Linked DNA regions of Homo sapiens: region 2 is linked to region 1. The links are contacts of gene promoters, found by promoter capture Hi-C in human tissues and cell types (Jung and others, 2019). All regions are on one chromosome and are shown on one strand. The core of a region is centred on a gene start or on the middle of the fragment in contact, and the rest is flanking DNA. Distances in the headings are between cores, read along the strand shown. Region 1 holds the start of STAMBP (STAM binding protein). Region 2 overlaps DUSP11 (dual specificity phosphatase 11).

Evidence for each region. The method cuts DNA at HindIII sites, captures the fragments that hold promoters and counts their contacts. A contact is called where the count stands out against the background at its distance.
Region 2: a contact is called between a fragment that was not itself captured here and the fragment with the promoter of STAMBP in region 1, in 1 of the 25 tissues and cell types used here (hippocampus).

The regions. Positions count from the first base shown.
Region 1 is chr2:73,827,576-73,830,275 of GRCh38, reverse strand. It overlaps STAMBP (STAM binding protein), which reads right to left and starts at 1,315. Exons shown (of 10, transcript NM_213622.4): 1 at 766-1,315. LOC105374807 (a long non-coding RNA gene) reads left to right here. Exons shown (of 3, transcript XR_940246.3): 2 at 1,372-1,519. RefSeq lists a silencer at 1,326-1,544. The HindIII fragment of the contact is 10,781 bases long and covers 1-2,700 here.
Region 2 is chr2:73,774,998-73,777,775 of GRCh38, reverse strand. It overlaps DUSP11 (dual specificity phosphatase 11), which reads left to right. Exons shown (of 9, transcript NM_003584.3): 3 at 2,732-2,778. Among named protein-coding and RNA genes, the nearest start is that of DUSP11, 3.7 kb to the left of the region's middle. The HindIII fragment of the contact is 4,714 bases long and covers 1-2,778 here.

The DNA of each region.
Region 1 (2,700 bases), core at 66-2,565:
TGTAACTCTGCTCACTAAACCACTATAGTCAATCTATAAAATCATTCATTCATCATTATCATGGCAAGAGACTTAAATCTTGAAAACAACCATTTACTCATCTTCATAGACTAAACACTGAATAACAAAAAGGCACGATGGTAACTTGCATTGCAAAAACCCCTGGTGTCCCAAAACTCCAGTAATTCTAGTCTTTCTAGATATAGTTGCTGTTAGAATCAGATTCCAAATTCCAACCAGATATCACCACTATCATCTCCAAAATAAAACTGGGCATTTGACACACATTGCATTACAGCAAACCCTAATCAGTATGCTCTAGAATACACAAACTACAGTAGAATAAATCTTGGAATTCAAGGCCCTGTGGCAACTGGCCCTCCCCAACAGAGATCTTTTGCTTCAGTCAGGATTCCAATCCGCCCAGGCATCCTCACATTTCAGTTTCATTTATCTATCCAGTTTTTCTTTTCTACTACAACTCTTCCCTCAGGGGTAGTCTTCTCTCAGCCAATTCCATCTTTAGGTCTCTTCAATATTCGGGTCACAATTCCTCCACAAACCTTCCCCTCTAAAACACCCTCACTAATAGCACAAAAGCCGTGAGGACTACTAGGGATGCAGAGATAGTCCATCTCTCACGAGGCCTCCTTAGGGACTCAGAAAGCCGCAAGCATATCTAAAACCTCCCCAAGTAATTAGTAAACCTAGTCCACGGCCCATGAAAGTTAACTGAAACAGAGGATGCTTGTTGCATCTCAGTACCTCTTGGGAGAGGTTCTTGTGGGTTAAGAAAGGAACCACCTCCCAAGGCCAGGAAGCGGCGCCGGTTACCACCTGGTTGAGCAATTCCAAAAAGGGGATGCAGCATCTGCAAATGAGGGGGAAAGGCGGCGTAAAGGACCGAGGGGGAAATACGAGGAGGAGAAAGGAAGTAGCAGGAATGAGCGGAGGGGGCGTATACAGTAGGGAGGGCTCTATCGACAACTGCTTGAGGAACCCTTCTTGAAGGCACTCAAGACGAACTTGCCAACCCCAGGCACAATCATCCAGGGTTTTCGGGATCTTTCAAATGCAGTAGGCGGGGAACCGCTGGGCCTGGCTGGTCAGGCGCCAGCCCGCGGAGACAGAAGCCGTCGGGTGCCTCGAGCGAGGCAGGCCGGGCAGGGGACTCGGGGAGAGTAGGCTGCAGGCCCCACACTCACGGCGGCCGATCCCCTTCAAAGTCCAACCACGCTCGGAGGCCCTGCCCCACCACGTTCCCGGGACCCTTCCCCACCTTTCCCCGCGGATGACACCCGGAGGTTCCGGAAACGTCACATCCGGCGCCCGCTCCGCCCACTCCCGTTCGTCTGTCTATTACATTCCCAGTGATTTAGGACTTGGAACGGAGAGCTAGTAGGTGGGGCTAGAATCGGCACCTGCGGAAAATCCGACCAATGAGGAGCGAACGACACAGCGGCCATCTTGGTAAAGGAAAAGGAACAAGGAAGAAAGTGGAACCAATTAGCAAGCTAAGGTTTGCTTTTAAAATTATTTTGATTTGGGGTAGTCCCTCATCACACTCACAATACTCCTGCATTTAAGGAGGGATTGCTGATCCCAGCACAACTGCAGACTTAGCTAAACTAACCAGGATTTATAAATTGGGGGACAGAAAGTCTTTCGAATGTATTTTTTAGCTTGTATTACATTCTACACAAAAATTGGTAGTCTTAGATATTAGGCAATATCTAAGACTAATTTTATTGCTTAGAAAAGAACATAAGTCTAACTTTTTTTTTTTTTAAGACAGGGTCTTGCGGTGTCACCCAGGCTGTCACAGGAGTGCAGTGGTGTGATCATAGCTCACTGTGGTCTCCAACTTCAGGGCTCAAGCGATCTTCTTGCCTCTGCCTCCCAAAGTACTGGGATTACTGGCGTGTGCCACCGCACCCAGATGAGACTAACGTTTTAATGTCAAAAAACCTATAAAATATTTGGAAAAAAAGCGTTTAATCTCTAAGAGCCGCTATGCAAAAGCAGTGGAGACACAAAAATCTGTATGACACTGTTCCTGCCCTGAGACCGGGACAAGGTGGTTTTATGCATCAAATACAGAATGGCACGTTCTGCATGTAGATGTGTGTCTGTACGAATCCATATACATCCTCTTTACAAAAAGGTCCTACAAGCTTGCTAATCATTCTGTCTCAGAAGACTTTGTGAAACATTAGGCTTTGGTTTAAAAGTCTAAGTCTCTGGGGGACACTTTCCCAAAATTTGGGAGCCTCCCTGTGAGTTTGTTAGTGTGATGGCATGACCTATTCTTCAAGGTCTAGCTTAAATCCCTAATTCAGGTGTTGCCTCCTCCACCTAGCCAGCCTCCAGATCTCTCATTTCTCCCAACCTCCGTTGTGTATATTTCTGTTGGAGTTACCTGAAGTGATTTTGTGTAGTCATCAACTTTTCAGACTTAGGGTTGAAAGTACTTGCTTGCATCATATCACCTCCCCTTCTGCCCCCAGCAAGCATTAATGTGCATGGGTCTACTATCAACTCTCATGGATCTACTGCAGATAAATCTGGGAAGATAATTGTATAGGGCACTCTACTGTGTCTTCAAAACTCTCTCTACTGACTCTCTTCAGAATGTAAACATGATGGGTTGGGCCTAAAGAAATTGATGCACTGGAGATGCTGGTCATTGGGTGGGCATTA
Region 2 (2,778 bases), core at 246-2,745, 53 kb after region 1:
AAATATGAACAGCTTTTTATCTATATTAATCTTGAATAGGACATCCAAAAGCCATTCAGGATGTGGGACACATTTGTAGGACTGTCCTGAATTTGGCAAGTTGTTTAGAATTTGTAACCCTTACCCACTGAATGCCAGTGGGACTCCTTTCCTTCCATGGTCACAATCAGAAATATCCCCCGGATCATCAAGGTCAGGATTTCAGTGGGGAAAATCTGAAGATTGTATTTTTGTTTAAACTAGGAAAGGAATAGGAGGGATAGGAGGGGAAAGCTTTTGACAGCCATAAAAAAGATGAGAAGGTGAAGACAAATAATTGTTTTCTAGATTCCATGTCTTTCTTATTAGACTTCCCCAGCATAGCTCAGATTAGTATCAGGAGAAGCCTACTTGAAACGTTTTGGGAATTTACTTAATTTGTGACTTATAGATCAGATTTCCTTTTTCAACTGCTGTGTCAGCTTCTCTGCATGTCTGGGCTTAAAAATGAGTCATTTCAGGCCAGGCCTGTTGGATCATGTTTGTAATCCAGTACTTTGGGAGGCAAGGTGGGTGTATCGCTTGAGTCCAGGAGTTTTAGACCAGCCTGGGCAACACTGAAACCGTGTCTCTACAAAAAATACAAAAATTAACCAGGCGCGGTGGCGTGTGCTTGTAGTCTCAGCTGCTCAGGAGGCTGAAGTGGGAGGATCGATTGAACCCAGGAGGTCAAGGCTGCAGTGAGCCATGATCATGCCACTGTACTCCAGCCTGGGCAACAGAGCAAGACCCTGTCTCCAAAAAGAAGGTGTTGGAGACACAGGGAATTTTTAGGGAAGTGAAACTATTCTGTGTGATACTCTAAGGGTGGATACATGTTATATATTGATCAAAACCTATAAAAGGGCTTCACGTATATTAACACATTTCACAACAATCCTGTGCTGATGAAGTAGCAGTAGTACTAATATCTCTTACTGAGTGCTTATTCTGCACTAAGCTCAGAGAATAGATGGTTACATCTAATAAATAATTTTGTAGATAATCAAACAGGCTCAGAAAAGGAAGAATCAAAACTTGAACTTAGTTCTTTCTCTCATTTTTTTTGTGGCAAAATATATATAACATAATATGTACATACAATGCATAACATAGAATGAATCACGCATACCTAACCTCTAGACTTTGGTGATAACGATGTGTCAGAGTTGGTTCTTCATTTGTAACAAATGGACCACACTGGTATGGAATGTGGATAGTGGGGGAGTCTGGGTGGGTTGGGGAAGGCAAAGTACATGTGGGAACTATCTGTCCTTTTGGCTCAGTTTTGCTGTGAACCTAAAACTGCTCTGAAAACTAGTCTATTTTTTTTTTTTTTTTTTTGAGATGGTGTCTCGCTTGTCGCCCAGGCTGGAGTGCAGTGGTGTGATCTTGGTTCACTGCAAGCTCTGCCTCCTGGGTTCACGCCATTCTCCTGCCTCTGCCTCCTGAGTAGCTGGAACTACCGGCGCCTGCCACCACGCCTGGCTAATTTTTTTGTGTTTTTAGTAGAGATGGGGTTTCACCGTGTTAGCCAGGATGGTCTCGATCTCCTGACCTCGTGATCCTCCTGCCTCGGCCTCCCAAAGTGCTGGGATTACAGGCTTGAGCCACCGCACCCAGCCAAACTAGTCTATTTTTTAAAAAGTACATTGCTGGCACCTGAGTAGCCAGACAGATTGAAGGAACAGAGCATAAAGTTCAAAAATAAGCCACATACATAAAAGAATATTCAGCAATGAAAGCCATCCTTCATATATGTAGACATGTGAGAAATATTTATTTGTGAGGCCGAGACAGGAGGGTTGCTTGAGCTCAGGAGTTTGAGATCAGCCTGGGCTACATGGCAAGACGGCAAGACCCTATCTCTTTTTTTTTTTTTTTTTTTTTTTTAAATTTTTTTTTTGAGATGGAGTCACTCTGTCACCCAGGCTGGAGTGCAGTGGTGTGATCTCGGCTCACTGCAAGCTCTGCCTCCCGGGTTCACGCCATTCTCCTGCCTCAGCCTCCCGGTAGCTGGGACTACAGGCGCCTGCCACCACCCCTGGCTAATTTTTTGTATTTTTAGTAGAGACGGGGTTTCACAGTGTTAGCCAGGATGGTCTCGATCTCCTGACCTTGTGATCCTCCCGCCTTGGCCTCCCAAAGTGCTGGGATTACAGGTGTGAACCACTGCGCCCAGCTGACCCTATCTCTTTAAAAAAAAAAAAAAAAGGCCAGGTGTGGTGGTTCATGCCTGTAGTCCCAGCTACTTGTGAGGTTGAGGTGGGAGTATTGCTTGAGCCCAGGAGGTGGAGGCTGCAGTGAGCCATGTTTGTGTCACTGCACTCCAGCCTGGATGACGGATGACAGAGCAACACCCTGTTTCAAAAAAAAAAAAAAAAAAAGAAAAGAAATATTTATAAGCACTAAATATGATAAGCACTCCACCTGGAGCTGGAGATACAGTGGTGAATAAAATCTGGGAGATTACAGTCTGATTAGGAGACCAACATGAAACAAATACAGAAATACATATATAGAAGTGGGCTTATTTTTTTCTTTCTGACCACTCTGGAAGAAAGGATTGTTGTAATATACCTTCTATGTTCCAGGAGAATGGAAACTTTCCTTTGAATCTCGTTGTATGTTAGCATCACAGGACTTGAATAAATGCCTAATGTAGTACAGGATTTTAAGCACATATTTGCTCTTATTTCATTCTCTGTGACAGAGTTTTGAAAAGAAACTTGCTCCAGAAGAATGCTTTTCCCCTTTGGA